Regions from separate parts of the Homo sapiens genome. Here regions 1 and 3 are each linked to region 2. Evidence: promoter capture Hi-C in 16 types of primary human blood cells and fetal thymus (Javierre and others, 2016). All regions are on one chromosome and are shown on one strand. Each heading gives the region's core, a stretch centred on a gene start or on the middle of the fragment in contact. The rest is flanking DNA. Distances are from core to core; before and after follow the strand shown.

Region 1 (2,964 bases), core at 39-2,538, 170 kb before region 2:
ATTGTTTATCATCTCAACGGCACAGCCCCTTGAGGTTTGGGAGCCTCTTGTAAACTTTCCTTGTCTCTGTGCATAGTAGATGCTTAAGAAGTATCTGGTAAGTATTAAATGAGTGACTTGTAAATATAACTCTCTGCTCCATCCACAACACCTTACCTCTGGATGCAGTAAGATTATCCTAAGAGAGGGCATCTTTAGATGCATGTAAAGATAGACTTTTGTGTATCTGTGCTTTTTTTTTTTTTTTTTTTGAGAAACAGGGTCTTATTCCCATTGCCCAGGTGGAAGTACAGTACAGTGGCATGATCATGGCTCACTGCAGCCTCAACATTGCGAACTCAAGCTATCTTCCTGCCTCTTTTTTTTTTTTTTTTTTTTTTTTTTTTTTTTTTTTTGTAGAGCCGAGGTCTCACCATGTTGCCCAGGCTGGTCTTGAACTCCTGGGCTCAAGTGATTCTTCTGCCTTGGCCTCCCAAAGAGCTGGGATTACAGGTGTGAACCACTGTGTCTGGCCTGTTTGTGCTCTTGTTTGTAGTCAGTCTAGGGGTTAAGTGTAGGGAACTCTTGGAGGTGACCCAAATGAGTCCATTAAAGTTTTTGTCCTTGGGAATTTTGAGCTGAGACAGAGCCCAATAGGTAATGGAACTGCATTATAGTAGCACCCTGGAAACAGTCAAAATTCTTGCTGAGATTCCTGGAGGTGCCCTTGCTTCTATCCTTCTAACCACTGTGAAACCTTTTTAGATTCCACGAGATGCCCTCATGTCCTTCTAGTAAGTTACTTTGCTTAAACTAGCTAGAGGCAGTTTCTGTTCTTGACCACTAGGAAAATCTGAACTGATATAGTAGAATAAGGTGGGTCACTGACAGCACATAGATAACACTCCCGAAATAAATAAAGACAAAGCATTATTTGTGTTATGCAAGTATCCCACTTCATTCAAATAAATTATTCTTTCCTTGAAGAAAAGCATGGCCATTAGCTCTCTGAAAAGGAAAGGGTAAGTTTGGGACTGAACTAGTAATAACAACAACAAATAAAACCTTCAAAAGTTGTGGGGAAACAAATTATTTTCAAAAACAATTTACATAGTTATACCATCCTCATATCATCTACACTGAGGTAAACAGATAGACAAGTACAAAATCTGAATAACATTTGCTGTATTTAAAGACAAAGATGCCCTTATTGGCTCTTCAAAGGGCAGGTGAGGATTTACATTGATCCAATTCTTATGGTCTTATCTACTCATCCTTTGGAGCCAGTAATAATCTGTATATAGGATCTGGTTAAGCCAACTGTCTCCATTCCTCCATCCATCCATCCACCCACCCAATAGTTCTTTGTGTGAGGCACTGTGCTGGATCATGAAGCCATCAAGATGAGTAAAATTAGATTCTCACCCATTAATAAGTTTACAGAACAGTAGGAGAAACAGTCAAGCAACTACAGTGATGTCATATAATACAGGCATAAACAAAGTACTATGGTAGCCCCTTACTGCCTGGAGGAATGAATGAAAGGAGTCAGAAAGAAGGTGATGTTTGAGCTGAAACTTGAAGCTAAATGGGAAACATTCCCAGGGAAATGAATCTTCAGCTCCTAATCTAAAGGATAGCAAATTTTGTTCCTATTTTAATGAGAGGAAATTAAAATTCAGAGAGAATGCTTACACCTAGTAGGGCCTCACAGTGACAAGGCAAAACCATAGTACGACTCAGAAATCTGGACTGCCTATTGCTAGATTCACAGACTAAGAACCTAAGAACACGGTCCCTGTGCATTGCTAGTACTCAAAAAAAAAAAAAAAAAAAAATCCAACTTTAAACATCTGCTTATTCCATGAAATGATCTTGCCAGGCATGCTCAACTTCTCTAAGAAGGTCATTAGACTTAAACTTTTGTGGAAAGGAGTTTAAAAAGCCAAATACATTTCTGACAAATGGAATGTCTGATAATTATGTGACTGAATCTCACATTTACTAATTCTGAAACTAGTTAATACCAAATAGTTCTTAAAAGACAAAGGAAGAGAGGTGATTTCTCTGTGGAAAGGTTGGGCCTAAGGGTCAAGGATGGTTCTAAGTCATCAGACTACAGAGTTTTAATCTAAACATTTTTCTTCATTTTTTACTATGTTAGAAAGAGCACCCTGAGATATTAAACTACTACCCAAAACATCTTTTTCAAAAAGTGAAAAAAGGAAAAGGGAGGCACTCCATCATGGATTTGCACTAAAACAAATATCTTCTATATATTTGAAGTTGAATGCTCTTAACTACCAACTGAATGGCACGTTCACATATGAAGACTTCTTGTGATTCCTGCAAGACAGTGAGAGTGTGAATGACCCCTGCTGTGGCCAATTTAAGAAGGAAAAATATTAAAGGTATGCAAAGGGTGAGGAAGAGCTGCTGTTCTATGTATAGTTCCATTAAATTTATTAAGAGGCTTTGTCTTTTTTTTTTTTTTTGGCTTTAGAGAGGCATTAAGAAGTAGGGCATGAAGGCACAAAAAGGGAACCTGAAATCCAATTGCAATAATTACTCATGCAATTGGCCTCTTTCTATGTGGCATTATAGAAACCTCCTGAGTAACACAGTTTATGGTTTTACAAAAGAGAACTCCTACATCATTGCATGGCATGGCTACCGCTTCCTTAGACCATTCAGAGAATGATCCCCAAGTATTTTTCATAAACCCCATAGGGTTTCCTACATTAAAATAAAGTGACAGAGATCACGCCTTGAATAATTTCACAATTCCAGCAATGAGTTGTACTACTTCCAAATGACGAATTTTCTGCTCCAAATAATGGGACAAAGGGCATCATCACATGGACACAGTCAATTTCACAGTGATGGACTCACACAGGTGGATGATCTGAGGCACAAGCTGTGATTGGTCTTAAGAAAATGAAAGGTAGAGTTGGGTTCAAAATCCACATCTCACGATTTCTGGTC
Region 2 (3,203 bases), core at 501-3,000:
TTGGGGGATCTACCTAGGACTGCTAATTTTTTATTTTTCTGAGAGAGGACATCAACCAACAATAACTATCGTATTTCATAACAGAATGGACAATTCAAAATAACTAAAACTATGAAGCATATAGTCTTAGAATAAAGAATTGTCCTGTTCAAGAAAGGACAAGTGTAACCTTAAAATTGTTATAATACATCCGGATAAATTTATTACATAGATGGCCCTACATTTCCTATGGGTCTGCGGTTGTGAGCCACTGTTCTAGACGGCTAGGAGGGTTTGAAGTGAGTTGAGAACCTTTACTGTCCTGAAGATGGGGTAGGGGCTAGACAAGGGTATATTCTAAAAAGAGGAAAGCGCTACTGTAATAATCTTGCCTAGGATTACATACAGATGGGCATAACAGAGTCCCAGGACTTCACCCCTTCGGTGTAGAGCAGGGATGGCAGGGATGGCAAGAGCCCCACTTAGGATACCTGGAAAAAGAAATCTCCGCAGCAAAGGGTCCTTGTGCTGACTTTTCTTTTTCATTTACGAGTGTACCCTCTGTCTCCTTGGGGGCCCACCTTCTTATTCCCAGCAGGAAAGGGGAAGGGGGAGGACAGGAAATGTGGAAACCGCGTTAACAGCCTGATTGTGAACCAGCACTGCGACTGAGATGCGAGGAGGGAAGGACAAAAGTCCCTCCCTCGCTTTTCAAAAAGTAAGCCACAAAAGTTATAGAAACATTTTCTATTAAACATCATCTCCATTTTGCAGAGAACCTAAGGCTCCGAGGACTTGCCCAGGGCCATACAGCCGGTGAGCCCCAGGGCTCAGCCACAGCCCAGGTAACGAGGACAGGGCTTGCTCCAGCCACCATTGGCTGCCTCTTCGGCCTCCCTCTCTCAGGTGAGACAGTATGTCAGGTGAGGCAACTGAAACAATGTCCCTCAGTTCGGATGCATCCTCCCTCTTCGTTTCCTGTCATGAGACAGGTTTCTCCTCTTCCTGGATGTGGTTAAAAAAAAAAGAAGAAGAAAAGAAACAAAAGAAAAAAGGAAAGAAACGCAAAGCAAAGCCAAGCCCAACGTCTTGGCTCTCAGGGTTGCACCTCCTTTCTCTACCCGCGGGGTCTGGGCCGGCGGGGTGTGGCCGCAGCCCTGGGGCGCGAGAAGCCCATCCGGGCCCGAGGTGCTGGGCGGCCTGGAGCGCTGGCTGCCCCCAGGGCCGGCGGCTGTCCCTGGGGTTTCCCCGCTTCTGGGCTTTCCCCGCTTCTGGGCTCGGTGGCCGCGCGGGCGGGCGCCAAGTGACTCAGCCGTCCCCGAGGGCGTTCCGGGAAGCGGCCGGGGGCGCGGGCTTTCCTGTCGCCGCAGCGTGTGAGTCCCCAGCGCCGAAAGGGGATCAGAAACCGCTGGGCGGAGCAGCGGGAGGAAGCTGCGGCGCGCAGAGCAGAGTCAGCGCCACCGTCTTTCGAGCTGGAGCGGAGGGAACGTGGCCTTGACGTTGCTGAAGCTGAAGCGCCGGGCGGGCGCCCGGACCCCGGGGCGGGGCAGAAACGAGTCCGTTCCCTACTGCGGGGCGGGGGCAGGGCTGGAACGGGAGTTCAGGAGGGACAAGGACGTGGAAGGAGCCCAGCAGAGGGCACCCGGGACCCCCGCGGCCGGGCCGAGTTTGAAGGGAGCCCCTCTCCCCCTCCCCCTGGCGGAGCCCCCTGTAGGGTCTGACCTGGTGCCCCGCAACAGGAGCGGGAGGAGGAGCAGGCCCAGAGCGGCCGGGCCCCAGCCTAGAGGGGCGCTCGAGGGGAAGCGAGTGAAGTGAGGGCTCCGCCAGAGCAGCACCCCCTTCCCCGCCGTCCCTCCCGGACTGGCCGGTTCTCGTCAGAGATTCCTTTGTCTTCGACGCTGGTCCCTCCACACCAAGGTGGGAGGCTGAGGTGGGAGGTGGCAGAGCGGTGGGAGTGGGAGCAAGGCCGGAGCGTGGGTGGAGGCGCTGGCCGCGGGCTTGCAAGGATGGCACAAGGGAGACATCCAGGACAAACCATGGGGAACACAGCTGCCACTGAGAGAAGCTGCCCGGAGGAGGAAGGGGCTGCAAAGTTCAACCACCAGGCAAGGCAAGTCCACGAACAAAATCCCGGCTCTAAAAACAGAGCAGCAATTGTCACTGTGGGTTAGACGCTTTGAGTTACCTCTATTTTCATTTATGTCTAAGATAAATTCAAGAGACAAGGAGAAAGTCAGGAGGTTAAAATTCCAGCCTCTGGTCCCAGCTCCCTAAAGCCAGCTCCCTTCTTGTCTTTGCCAAAGTTTGCTTCTATGAATCAGTAATTAACCCCCACTTTTTTTCTTATGTCAGAGTTCCTTCAGTCACAACCAAGAGAGTTCTGACTAATAACACACCTTTTAATCCAGCAATTTTACTTCTGGGAGTTTATTCCAAAGAAATATTACATAACAAAAGAGCCATATGCCTCACAATATTCACTGTGGGCTTGTTCATAAAATTAAAACAATCATAACTATAAATGTCCAGTAATGGAGGCAGGGAATAAACTGGCATATTTATATGATAAACTACTATGGGCCGGGCGTGGTGGCTCACGCCTGTAATCCCAGCACTTTGGGAGGCTGAGGCGGGCAGATCACCCGAGGTCAGAAGTTCAAGACCAGCCTGGCCAACATGGCGAAACCCCGTCTCCACTAAAAATACAAAAACAAGTTAGCTGGGCGTGGTGGTGTGGGCCTATAGTTCCAGCTACTTGGGAGGCTGAAGCAGGAAAATCACTTGAGCCCGAGAGGTAGAGGCTTCAATGAGCTGAGATCGTGACACTGCACTCTGGCCTGGGCAACAGAGCGAGTCTCCGTCTCAAAACAAAACAAAACCTACGGAGCCTTAAAATGTTATATGTAGGGTTTTATAACTTGAATAAAGACTTCGGTTATAAGAAAGCAAGACACAAAATCATATATATATATAATATATATATACACACACACAGTGTAATCACAATATGAAAATGTACATAGAAAAAAAACACTTGAAGGAAATCCACCAAAATGTTACATCTTTGGGTGATAGAATTACATACAAGTATTTTTTTCTTTCTAAAACATTTATGTATTTCCCAATTTATCTACAATGAGGATAAGCATGTATTATTAAAAAGTATGAAAACATTGATTTTAAAATTTTACATATATAGTATATAATTATATATACATAATACA
Region 3 (3,204 bases), core at 543-3,042, 180 kb after region 2:
TTTTTCCTTCACAGGGATGTCTAATCAACTCCAAATTCCCTTCTCCTGGTAGAAGCCCAGAGAGGGAAAATGACTTAATATCACAGAGTTAGTTGCAGAACTAGGACTTAAAATGCAGGTTTCCTGAATCCTGGTTTATTAATCCTTCCTGAATGGCCTTTGGGTAGTAGAGAAGGCAATAATTCTCTTTTATTTCCCATCCTTCTCTTGCCCTTCCTGAAATTATGGGTCACACATACCACAACATGTGGGTTTATTCTTTATCCTTGATGCAACATGTGCCCTTCCGTTGTACCCCTATTTTTACTCTCCAGGCCCCGTCTAGATCTCTGATCTCCCAGGTAGGTATCAAATGCCCATTTAACTTACAGATTTGGTTACTATGGCTTGAGTTTTTTCTTGACTGCTGGTATAGTTCAATTTGGATGAGATGGAGGGGAGTCTTGGGAAAAGAGCTTGGTCTTTTGCTTGGAAGTTACTGGTGAATCTGGCATCAACTGGGTTGTAGGGTGGGATAGTGGTTGCATTCTGAGTTTCCATTTCAACTGAAGGCTTGGAATTGAGGTCTACTTGGCTATCCTCAAATTTGCAGGGTTGTACTCTGTAGTCAGCCTCTTTGTCCTCTTTGCTGTTGCCTAACTGGGGAAATATTCTGTCTTCAGACTGGCCACGTGTTTCATAGTAAGACAGCTGGTCTTTATGATTAGCTTGTCTGTCTGCTAAGTGGTCAGTCTGGTCAGATTCAGTGTAGTGAGCATTGTCAACTGGAGGTTGATCAGCATTACTATGAGCTTGGTCAATAGCCTGGTGTTCAGCTAGTTCAGTGGCTTGGCCGTACACTTGGTGGTGAGTCTTTACAGATGTTTTGTGGTCAACGAGGCCATACAATCTGAGGTCAGTCTGCTCAGAAGTTCCTGGGTCAGCCAGGCCAGCCAATCTGTAGTCAGTCTTCTCAGAACTTCTTCTCCTAACTTTCCCTGACATTCTGCGGTCAATCTGTACGGAAGGTCTTTGGTCAGATGGTACGGACGATCCACTGTCAATCTGTACAGAAGGACTTTGGTCAGATGGGACGGATGACCCACTGTCAATCTGCACAGAAGGTCTTCTCTCAGATAGTTTGGATAATCTGTGTGTAATCTGCTCAGAAGTTCTTCGCTCAGCCTCGCCAGACATTCTGCGGTCCATCTGCTCGGAAGCTCTTCTCTCAGACTGGCCTGCCATTCTGTGGTCGGTCTGTCTGGAACCTCTCTGGTCAGATGGCATAGCCAGTCTACCATCAATCTGCCCAGAAGTTCTTCTCTCAGCCTGGGTAGGTAATCTTCGTTCAGTCTGTTCAGCAGTTCTTTCCTCCGTCAGGCCAGACACCTGACCATCACTCTGTTCATGCTGTACATTATTAGCTTGGCTAGATGCCTTGCCTTTAGTCTGTTCAGACGGTGTTTGATTAACCTGATCATCTGCTCTAAGGTCAGAAACATCAGCAGGGTTGGATGCTCTGCGGCCAGCCTGACCAGGTGTACTATGCCCATTTTGTTCAGCTACTCCGTTGGTAGCTTGGCTAAATATGCTGGATTCAGCCTGGCTAGGCACTCTTAGGGCAGTCTGGTCAGCTATTCTGTGAGCAGTGTGGTTATCTGCCTTCCTTTCGGCCTGGTTCTTCTGGTCGTCTTCTTCCTGGCCCTTAGTGTGGCCAGCACTTGAGGGAGCGGCTGGGCTTTCATGTTTCAAGGGTTCAGCCAGAGCCTCTTGCGGAGGCTCTTCCATTTCCTGCCGCGTCCCTGACTGGTCTAGGTTGCCAGGCACTGTGGGTGGGGTTGGGCTGGGTCGTCTAGGCGACCCTCCAGGAACGCCCCATGATTCCCACGGGCTTTGTTCGGGTCACTGCGTGCGTCAGGGAGAGTGGCCGTCCCGCTGTTGTAAGTGGAGGGACGGCAGTCAGCTGACCCTGCAGTGTGCAGGCGAGCGCAGGGAGTACGCCATGTCCTGAGAAGGGGCGATTCTCAGGCTCTGGCAGTTACAGCTTCTCCTCACCCTGCCGAGCAACCAGGCCACGGGGCTCCGTGCATCGCCACCTAGAGTGTTACCCTCTTCCTTGTTCACAGAGGTTCTCCGCAGTGTGTGAGAAAGAGGCCCTCTCTCAGGTACTGCTCCTCTGATTAACATCCCCCACCGCACCTCCAAATGTCAACAGATGAACACACAACCAGCTGCACGAGGACCACAAAACTGAACAGAGGTTGTTGCTATTGCCATCCCCTTTGGGTATAGCTGTCTTGGCAGTGGAAACTCCTGCCCCAAGGTGTTTTCTTGCTGGATTAGACATGTGATCTGTGGCGGGAGAGCCAGAGAGAGGAGAGAAGATCCAGTGAGAATGGGTTCTAAAACTGCACCATCTAGTGGTCTTACAGCAGAGAGGCGAGTTAGAAGGAGGCCAAATCAGAGTTCCAGAAAGGAAGGGAGTAAGGAAAGTGGGAGAAAGATACCAGAAGGAATATTTAGCAAGTGGAGAATTTGTATTTGATAGTGTTGGCCAGTGGGGCCCAGTTTTTGAGATTTGGTCCTCCCACTTTGCAATCAACCTTAAGAATGCACCTCAGAGTCAGTAGGCTGTCTACTTTCAGGAGTAGGCCAGTACAGAGGTGGTGATTGATGAGACAAATTACTTTGACCTTGCAAAGCCTGAAATCACTGAGGCAGGCCAAGGGTTGGTAGTGTGATGCCAGATATTCCTTTAGTAGGGATTTAACTGCATTAAACAATTAGAAATGAGACTTAAAATCCAAATTCAAATACTTGTGACAAAGGAGAGTGGATACACTTGACACCATACTTAGGAATGGAAAGGGGAATCTAAGCACACTGAAGTAAAGTCATTTATGTAACAGTGCCTAGAACATAATAGGTGCTCAAGAAGTGCTTGTTGAATGTCACTTTATGAATTATCTACCTTATTTATTTAAAAATGCATGACACCATTGGATACTGTGTTTAGAGTAAAATAGGTCTTGGGCTATGGCTTGTAGCTTCAAAGTGCTATTGGTTTTGGAGATTTATTTTTCCATTTTATAACTTAAATGTAATAATCATAGAAATATAAAAAAGAAAGCGTAAAGAAAAAAATTCCCAAACACTCAAGAGATAACCTGTATTGACATTTTGATGTTTATCCTTCTGGAAATACCCCCATGCAAATCTATGTGT

What was found. Contacts are between HindIII fragments. The CHiCAGO score rates a contact against its expected background, and 5 or more counts as called.
Region 1: a contact is called between a fragment that was not itself captured here and the fragment with the promoter of ARHGAP31-AS1 in region 2, in 1 of 17 cell types (megakaryocytes). The highest score is 5.1, in megakaryocytes.
Region 3: a contact is called between the fragment with the promoter of TEX55 here and the fragment with the promoter of ARHGAP31-AS1 in region 2, in 10 of 17 cell types (non-activated CD4 T cells, naive CD4 T cells, total CD4 T cells and 7 more). The highest score is 14.9, in non-activated CD4 T cells.

Annotation. Positions count from the first base shown.
Region 1 is chr3:119,492,657-119,495,620 of GRCh38, reverse strand. It overlaps POGLUT1 (protein O-glucosyltransferase 1), which reads right to left. Exons shown (of 11, transcript NM_152305.3): 11 at 913-2,964. Among named protein-coding and RNA genes, the nearest start is that of TIMMDC1, 4.4 kb to the left of the region's middle. The HindIII fragment of the contact is 3,644 bases long and covers 1-2,964 here.
Region 2 is chr3:119,321,307-119,324,509 of GRCh38, reverse strand. It overlaps ARHGAP31-AS1 (ARHGAP31 antisense RNA 1), which reads left to right and starts at 1,750. Exons shown (of 2, transcript NR_046748.1): 1 at 1,750-1,896. All of the region lies in intron 1 of ARHGAP31 (Rho GTPase activating protein 31), which reads right to left. RefSeq lists enhancers at 365-1,221, 1,222-2,079 and silencers at 1,043-1,392, 1,443-1,802. The HindIII fragment of the contact is 4,466 bases long and covers 1-3,203 here.
Region 3 is chr3:119,144,753-119,147,956 of GRCh38, reverse strand. It overlaps TEX55 (testis expressed 55), which reads right to left and starts at 1,792. Exons shown (of 3, transcript NM_152539.3): 1 at 370-1,792. The coding sequence starts at 1,767. It also overlaps a transcript of IGSF11 not described here. RefSeq lists a silencer at 2,241-2,535. The HindIII fragment of the contact is 11,642 bases long and covers 1-3,204 here.